Regions from separate parts of the Homo sapiens genome. Here all the other regions are linked to region 2. Evidence: promoter capture Hi-C in 16 types of primary human blood cells and fetal thymus (Javierre and others, 2016). All regions are on one chromosome and are shown on one strand. Each heading gives the region's core, a stretch centred on a gene start or on the middle of the fragment in contact. The rest is flanking DNA. Distances are from core to core; before and after follow the strand shown. Region 1 overlaps STAG2 (STAG2 cohesin complex component). Region 2 holds the start of THOC2 (THO complex subunit 2). Region 3 overlaps STAG2 (STAG2 cohesin complex component).

Region 1 (3,114 bases), core at 566-3,065, 260 kb after region 2:
TTTTATCATCAGGCCTACCACAGTGCTGCTACAGATATACTTAATATTTGAATTGAAATCTCTTAAAATTTTTAAATTTTACTTTTTTTTTAAATTTCCGTAGCCTTTTTACTTTGTGCATTTGAGTCTAAGTTTACTGCACTCGAAGAGATCAATTCATTGAGGGCTGTAGTAGGGAGAGTTTCATGGAACAAATGCTGTGTTTTTCTTGGAGACAGGGTCTCCCTCTGTCTCCCAGGCTGGAGTGCAGTGGCTCAATCTCGGCTCACTGAAACGTCTACCTCCCAGACTTAAGCAATTCTCCAACATCAACCTCCCAAGTAGCTGGGACCACAGGCACACACCACCATGTCCAGCTAATTTTTGAATTTTTTTGTAGAGACGGGGTCTCACCATGTTCCCCAGGCTGGTCTGAAATTCCTGAGCTCAAGAGATCTGCCCGCCTTGGCCTCCGAAAGTGCTGGGGTTACAGGCGTGAGCTACTGTGCCTGTCCTATGGTTTTAACTGGTCCTTAAAGAATGATTCTGCATTGAGTACAAAGGGGGTGGTTATGGTTACAGGCTGGAGAAACAGAGATGGGAATGAGTACTTTCCATGGAATAATGAGACAAACATTGTGATTGAAACTGTAGGTTCAATTTTATTAATAGAAAAAGCAGGTCTTTGGTTTTTGCAGGATCTTGTTGGGATTGATTATATTTAAATATAAGTGCCTAAAAATGATACCTTGTATTTTTCTTAAACGATACATTTTTCTAGTTGGGTAAACTTTTGAGTTATTTAGACTAAAAACTGGGTGGCTTAGTGTTTCTGTAGAAGATAGAAAATGAACAGAGGAGCCAGTCACAGTGACTCACACCTGTAATCCCAGCCCTTTAGGAGGCTGAGTCCAGGAGTTCAAGACCAGCCTGGGCAACTTGGTGAGACCTTGACTCTACACAAAAAACAATTTTTAAAAAAATTCCATTTAAAGAAAATCGGGGAAGATCCCAGTGGTGAGTTGAAATCTATATGGAATGAACTTCCTGGAGATTTTCAATCTCGCTTACCTTAAATTTGAGCAATACCTTTCAGGAAAGGTACATTTTTTTTTTCTTGTGGAAAGAAGAGTAGTGTGGCCACTGGTGGCTTATTCTCTGGAAAGCTTCTTAAGGACATTCTGGGGAAATGCATCATTGAGCTGTGGGTTCCTGGCATTTGAGTGAATAATGTTCAGATGATTAAGTGGCCCAAGGCAGGAAGCAGGGAGAATGTTTGCTTCTCTTCCCTAGCTACTCATACCTCCTGTTTCTCTAAAACTGGGTAATCCTATATATAACAGGTTGCTGATTCCATGACTTAGAATAGCTTTTCTTAAAGTGGAGTATGGATTCACCTATATTAGGGGATTTATGAATAATACAAATACCTGAGACCTGTATACAGATCTACTGAATGAGTCCTTGGATGTCGGACCTGTGACCATGCATTTAAACGAACATTTTATATGATTTTTATGCATATTGGAATTTAAGAGAACTGCTCTCATATAGGTGGAATTTTCCATAATTTATTTATTAAACAACCACCTATAGGCATTATGGGGGAGTTACTGCTCCTCTTTAGGAAGTATAATTACAGGCAGTAAATGCTGTCTTAGTCCATTTGTGTTTTGCTGTAACAGAACACCCGAGGCTGGGTAATTTATAAACAAAAGAGGTTTTAGCTCAGTGTTCTACAGTCTGGAAAATAAGAGAAGCATTGCACCATATCTACTTGGCTTCTGGTGATGGTTACTTGCTAGGTCAAAACATGGTAGATAAGGTCAAAGGGGAAGTGGACACATTCAAAGAGAGAACCCAAGGGATAGCTTGGCTTTATAGCAACAGCCCCACTCTCTTGGGAATGAATCCATTTCCAGGAGAACTAATCCAGTCTCACCAGAGTGAGAACTCAGAATCTCACTCATTACCAAAAGATTGGCAACAAGTCATTCATGAGGGATCTGCCACCATGACCCAAACACCTCTCAGTAGGCTTTACCTCCCAACACAGCCACGTTGGGGATCAAATTTCAACATGAGTTTTGGTGGGGACAAACAAACCATATCTAACCCAAAGCAAATGCCTATTGCTTTATAATAAGATTGATGGTAAAGTGCAGCTGTTGGGGATTTTCTGCTGCTCAAGATTTTGCTAAAGATCGTTTTGTGTACACAATTGTAAGGAAACTATTATTTTTATTGCATGTATTGAATGAAGAGTAAGATATTTCAGGGGTTTCTATGTGATAGTTTTAGATAGTTCCTTAAGTACAAAGGAAGGAAATTAAGACCTTATGTTTGAAATTGAGTGATTCACAATACTTTAAGAGTGTAGTCTTATTTTTGTTCTGAAGAGCTATTATGTGGATTATCCTAGTAAGACAAGTATATATTTATGAGACAAATATGTAGAAGATGAGTTCAAGCCTAGATTCTTGCCTCTTAGCTGTGTGACCTTGGGAAAAGCTTTTAACTTAAAAACAAATTCAGCGTTGATTAGTATTTAGGGGAAGTTGATTTGCTGTAGAAACCATGTTATGCTATTACTTGCGTAAGTATTTTGGTAACACTTCTGGTATTACCATGGTAGTATAAAAGCATTTTTTTCCCTCTCGTATAATACAGAAACAACAACGTAAACAAAAAACCTCTGCAAACTCCTATTTTTAGCACACTTGGAGACATAAAATGTGCCGATTACAAAAAATGTGTAGAGGGGCCGGTAGGTCGTGCATCAAAGAAGTGTGGAGAATAGTGAGCTGGCCCAGAGATGGTAGATCTTAGAAAGCTTGACTGTAAAATACAATAATATCCTTTGTATGTGACAATGGGAGCAGGTAAAGAGATGAGCAGGCTACAAGATAAAGCCTTTATGGAAAAGGTTTAGTCACGACTAGGGAGATATGGTAGGGCTTTTGCACAACGAATCCGTTTTAGCAGGAAATCATCTCTGTGGAAGCAGTGGAGAGAACTTTTGACTTAAGAAGCCTGAAAGGCTATTTATCCTAACATATAAAGAGCTCTTTGGAGTCAGTAAGAAAAAGATCATTAGCAGTGGCTCACGCCTGTAATCTCAGCACTTTGGGAGGC
Region 2 (3,136 bases), core at 523-3,022:
AATAAACCAATAAGCATTCTAAGCATAGGCTGGGGGGGCGGGGCATGTGTTAAACCAAAAGAAATATGAGACATAGTCCCTATATTTCAAAGGCCTCCCAATTCATTACAGTGCAAGAATAAACACACATGAATAAGTCAGAGACCAATTAATTGCTAACCTGAGTGGTACAGACTTTAAGTGCATGAGCTGTCCTGAGAAGTTTAAATATCTAAAGGTTGGAATAATATTACTTTTAATAGCTATCACTTGAGCACTTACTATAAGCCAAGTGCTTTACAGGCATTATTTAGTCTTCACAACAATCCTTTGAGTAGAGTACTTATTATTCCCAATTTACTCAAGGGGAAACAGTCCAAGTGGTTAAGGAACTTACCCAAGGTCACTCAGCTACTTAAGTGGCTAAGACAGCCGCTTATTTAGGGAATTCTAGAGCTCACACTGTTAAGACTTCATACAGCAGTGCGGGGGGTGCGGGGGAGGAAGCCACATAGGCTGGCACTATTACAAGCGCGGGATCCGGCAACGCGTTCCTCGTGTTTCGTTCCAAGTAACGAAGTTACAAAGATTTGAATCTTTAGCATGAGCCACGGTAAACTGGCTACTAGAAATGGAGAGGGGTGGGCAAGGACGACAAAAATGGCTAACGAGGGTTAATTTCATCCAGGGTTGAGCTTTAGCATCTAAAAGCGACCCAGAGAAGGAAATGAGATGTTATTAATATTTGTTCTTATATCTGAGGTTTGCTTTGCTGCTTAAACGACTCCTTCCAGGGGAAGGGGAGGAGGGAGCGCTCTAACGTGGGGGCGAGAAGACTAGGGGTATGGCAAATTACTGTTTTCGGTGTTACGGGGGAAAGTTTCACGACTAAAGGAAACGCGTTATCCTAGGTACTGGAGAAGCTTGGAGAGCTGCCAGAATTAGTTGCAGTCCCAGGATAAAATGGGGTTTAGGGAACATTTAATGACGAAAGTTGAATCCAACCCGAAATAGCTCTAAGGTGAAAAGACGGAGCAAAGAAATGTCGGTGGTTCTTCAGGGAAAGCGGCAATCCCTGCCACACTTCCCCACGGCGCTACGCGAGGCCGGGACAGTCGAGAGACCGCTCCCCGGGAGGGCGAGAGGTGCCAAACCGGGTTCTTCGCGGCGCCCCGGGCTTCGCGGCAGCGGGCGAAGAGGAGGGGAGGGGAATCCGGGACGGTTCGCCCTCCTTGGACTTCAGGCAGAGGAGGCGCCAAGCTCCAAACTGCGGAGTCCAACGGGTGCAGAGTGAAGAAATGGCACAGAGAGAGATGGAAAGTCCGAATTGCCCCGGCTCAGCCCCATAAAGATAAAGGAGCCAAGTGAGATCAAGCGAAGAGGGGGACACAAAAAGAGACCAAGAGGGAGCGCGGAGACCTGCAGGGGCGGAATAAGAGTTCTACTAAGAGGCTAAAGGAAGCCGAGCTACCGCAGGCAGTAGCGATTTCTGGGAGGCCAGGGAAGGAAGGAGGTCCGCGGCGGTAAACAGCACCTCTCCCCGAGTTCGAAACTCCTAGACGACCATCCACGCCCGCCGCCCGGGTGGGGGAGGGGGTACATCTTTCCCCCTCAACCTCCCACTACAGGTGAGAGTGCAGCTGACGCCCTGGCCCGGCCCGGCAGTGCGCCTGCCTCCGGCCCGAACACTCACAATTCGCCTCTCCCTGATTTCTCCCAGTTCTTTATCCACTCTGCGGGAACCACCACAGCCGCGGCCGCCATCTTCCTCTCACTAGTAGCAGAAGCCCGGATGTGTAGCACGCGAGCGAAGGGTCAAAGGGGAGCACCGCCCACGAGGAATGCCGGGAGCTGAGAGTTCGTTTTTCGATTTCCCGCCCCACTTTCCTCTCCACCCAGCGGAAACCCGAGGCAAGGCAGCCAACGACGTGGAGACTCGCGGGCCCCTTTGCGAGGTTACTACACGGGTTGCGCCCTCCGAAGTCTTCGGCCTTACTTCCCATTAGAACAGAGAAATGCCATCCACAGGCCAACAAGTAGACTTCATCTTCTTCCGTAATATCTACCCCTAACCACTAATACAAACACGCATTTTTCAAGCACCTAATATGTGCTAGACACTGGGAATAGAGAAATAATAGTCTTTGGGAAAGCCATAAATATAAGCAAATAAATTACATTACGCCCTGCTGACTGCTGAGATAAAAGAAAATAATCGGGTCCCTCTCCTTCTCCCTCTCCCTCTCCCGTCTCCCTCTCCCGTCTCCCTCTCCCCACGGTCTCCCTCTCCCTCTCTTTCCACAGTCTCCCTCTGATGCCGAGCCAAAGCTGGACTGTACTGCCATCTCGGCTCACTGCAACCTCCCTGCCTGATTCTCCTGCCTCAGCCTGCCGAGTGCCTGCGATTGCAGGTGCGCGCCGCCACGCCTGACTGTTTTTCGTATTTTTTTGGTGGAGACGGGGTTTCGCTGTGTTGGCCGGGCTGGTCTCCAGCTCCTAACCGCGAGTGATCCGCCAGCCTCGGCCTCCCGAGGTGCCGGGATTGCAGACGGAGTCTCGTTCACTCAGTGCTCAATGGTGCCCAGGCTGGGGTGCAGTGGCGTGATCTCGGCTCGCTGCAACCTCCACCTCCCAGCCGCCTGCCTTGGCCTCCCAAAGTGCCGAGATTGCAGCCTTTGCCCGGCCGCCACCCCGTCTGGGAAGTGAGGAGCCTCTCTGCCTGGCCGCCCATCGTCTGGGATGTGAGGAGCCCCTCTGCCTGGCTGCCCAGTCTGGAAAGTGAGGAGCGTCTCTGCCCGGCCGCCATCCTGTCTAGGAAGTGAGGAGCGTCTCTGCCCGGCTGCCCATCGTCTGGGATGAAGTGAGGAGCGTCTCTGCCTGGCCGCCCATCGTCTGAGATGTGGGGAGTGCCTCTGCCCCGCCGCCCCGTCTGGGATGTGAGGAGCGCCTCTGCCCGGCCGCGACCCCGTCTGGGAGGTGAAGAGCGTCTCTGCCCGGCCGCCCCGTCTGAGAAGTGAGGAGACCCTCCGCCCGGCAGCCGCCCCGTCTGAGAGGTGAAGAGCGTCTCCGCCCGGCCGGCCGCCCCGTCCGGGAGGGAGGTGGGGGGGTCGGCCCCCCGCCCGGCCGGCCGCCCCGTCCGGGAGGTGACGGGCGCCTC
Region 3 (2,833 bases), core at 204-2,703, 350 kb after region 2:
TTTATCTGTTCCACTGTGATTGTTAAGGTTTTCCCCTTTGGTTCTCAAAGTCTGATTTGATTAACCATAGGTTATTCATAATTTTCATAACTATATGTGAGGTTTTGTTAAGTTGAAAGTAGTGATAAACAGGATATTGTTGATTATACTAACAGAATGTGACTAAATGTGGTAAGATAGCTTAAAAATCCTTCCTCAACTAAAATCTAATTATAAATGTAAACTTTTTAAAGCCTTTGCTTTCAAGAAATAAAATATGTAATATATTTAAACCTAGTTAATCCTCTCTGGAATATTTTGCTACTTGAACTCTAATATCATTGAAAATTATTTTGGAACTTAAATCATTTGGGATGATAATTACCAGGTTTTTTTTTTTTTAAACTAAGGTTGTTTATGAAGTTATTTAACAAATTTTAAAGTTTTAGTCTTAGGTATTCTAAAGTCACTTACTAGTCATAGGGACGTGGTTATTCTGTTATCTCTGATAATTGTTATTGTACGTGTTTGAAACACAATCTTAAATTAGGAAAAAATTTCATGTGCAATGTGTAATGTAAATGTCATATAAACAACTTTTAAAAGTTGTTTATATGCTTTCCTTTTAAAAGTTGTTTATAGGCTGTTAGATTCTATAAGCCAAATTAATAAAGTTTTAAACTGCTCGTGGCCTGTATACCCGGTATCAATGAATTAGTTATAAGTGTAACTGAGATTATATTTATTGTTTTACAAAGAGAATTTTGTTTGTACATTTTGTGTTACTTCTGAAAATCTGCATAACCTAATTGTTGTTTTGACTAAAACTGACCAGTATACCGTCTTTATTTTAACCAAGTCTGGAGCTTAATTTGATTAGATCTTAACTGTTTTGTATATATGATTTTACTGAAGTTAGGGATTGTATGCTTAGAAATGATCTTTAGGTTTCAGTAACATTCTTTCCTGCCTTTGAAGGCATAATTTTGGCTAAATACATACTTTGTGACGTGTTTACATGACTAACCTAAAATTTGTCTTATTGTCAAGTAGTTTTAAGAGATAAAGCTCTAATTTGTACAAATTTCTTTATAGTATTATAATGACTATGGAGATATCATCAAAGAAACAATGAGTAAAACAAGGCAGATAGACAAAATTCAGTGTGCTAAGACCCTTATTCTCAGTCTGCAACAGGTAAGCATTAAGAGTACCAACTTTAGCTAACACAATTAACACCTAATAGTTAGCAAAATAAGGTAGCAGTTGAAATTGGGCAAAGTGTGCAATAGGCAATTTATAAAAGTAGAAATACAAGAAAGTATAAGTGAGATTATTTTTTTGCTTTCAAACTGTCAAGATTGGCAAAACCTATAGCTATCTAAGGTATGGAGGAAATATAGATATGGTAGGCAATTTGGCAATTTATGTAAAAATTTATAATGTGTATGCCATTTGAGGCAGCAATTCTACTTTTTAAATCTACTCTTTTATCCAAGGTGATAAGACAAGTTTGCAAAAGTTGATATACAAAGTTGTATATTGCAATGTTGTTTATAGGAAGTAAGACATAATCTAAAAGTCTATTAGGATATTAGATAAATTTACTGTATAGTACATTTCTGCGATGACCGTTGTACAACACTTAAAATTAGTGTAGATCTATATTCATTAATGTATAAAGAGCTTCATAATCACAAAATATATTAACAGTGGTTAACTTGTTTTGGTAGATTTCATGTTGAATTCTACTTTTTTCTCTGTATATTTCCAAACTTATTTTTGTGAGCATATATTAATTTTATAACTAAAACACAATAGTTTTGGCCAGGCACAGTGGCTCATTCCTGTAATCCCAGTGCTTTGGGAGGCTGAGGTGGGTGGATCACCTGAGATCAGGAATTCGAGACCAGCCTGGCCAACATGGTGAAACCCCGTCTCTACTAAAAATACAAAAATTAGCTGGGCATGATGATGTGAGCCTATAATCCCAGCCACTTGGGAGGCTGAGGCACGAGAATTGCTTGAACCTCGTAGGTGGAGGTTGCAATGAGCCAAGATCATGCCACTGCACTCCAGCCTGGGCGACAGAGTGAGACTCTGTCTCAAAACAAACAAACAAAAAAACCAATAGTTTTCATTTTGGCAGTGTTGAGGCATTTAATTAGATAAAATTACTGACTTAGTATACTTTTGTCTTTGGAGACAAAATTTGCATGCAAAACCCAACCCAACCCATTCCAACTTAATGAACTTTCTTTTAGGAATGTCCTTTTTTTTTTTTCCTTTTCTTTTGAGACGGAGTCTCGCCCTGTCGCCCAGGCTGGAGTGCAGTGGCGTGATCTTGGCTCACTGCAGGCTCCACCTCCCAGGTTCACGCCATTCTCCTGCCTCAGCCTCCCAAGTAGCTGGGACTACAGGCACCCGCCACCACACCCGGCTAATTTTTTTGTATTTTTAGTAGAGACGGGGTTTCACCGTGTTAGCTAGGATGGTCTCAATCTCCTGACCTCGTGATCCACCTGCCTCGGCCTCCCAAAGTGCTGGGATTACAGGCGTGAGCCACCGTACCCAGCCAGGAATGTTCTTAATTTTATTTGAGAATTTGAATTTTCTCTATTAAAATTAATAAAATGTAGGCTGGGTGTAGTGGCTGATGCCTGTAATCCCAGCACTTTGGGAGGCCAAGGTTGAGAATTGCTTGAGCCCAGGAGTTGGAGGCCAGCCTGGGCAACATAGCAAGAGCCCATCTCTACAGAAAATGAAGAAAGAAAAATAAATAAAATTTAAAAGGTTGAAAAGATGGCATTTAAAAAATAACTTTTGCTATAAAGTAATAGCTGCTAGCTGTACT

Evidence for each region. The method cuts DNA at HindIII sites, captures the fragments that hold promoters and counts their contacts. A CHiCAGO score of 5 or more calls a contact.
Region 1: a contact is called between a fragment that was not itself captured here and the fragment with the promoter of THOC2 in region 2, in 1 of 17 cell types (M0 macrophages). The highest score is 5.1, in M0 macrophages.
Region 3: a fragment that was not itself captured here is called in contact with the fragment with the promoter of THOC2 in region 2 in 1 of 17 cell types (total B cells); the score reaches 5.1 in total B cells.

The regions. Positions count from the first base shown.
Region 1 is chrX:123,992,346-123,995,459 of GRCh38, forward strand. The region is part of intron 1 of STAG2 (STAG2 cohesin complex component); the gene reads left to right. Among named protein-coding and RNA genes, the nearest start is that of STAG2, 32 kb to the left of the region's middle. The HindIII fragment of the contact is 1,345 bases long and covers 1,144-2,488 here.
Region 2 is chrX:123,731,280-123,734,415 of GRCh38, forward strand. It overlaps THOC2 (THO complex subunit 2), which reads right to left and starts at 1,773. Exons shown (of 39, transcript NM_001081550.2): 1 at 1,673-1,773. The coding sequence starts at 1,743. RefSeq lists an enhancer at 1,709-1,788. The HindIII fragment of the contact is 10,140 bases long and covers 901-3,136 here.
Region 3 is chrX:124,076,883-124,079,715 of GRCh38, forward strand. STAG2 (STAG2 cohesin complex component) reads left to right here. Exons shown (of 35, transcript NM_001042750.2): 27 at 1,075-1,176. Among named protein-coding and RNA genes, the nearest start is that of STAG2, 120 kb to the left of the region's middle. The HindIII fragment of the contact is 5,321 bases long and covers 1-2,833 here.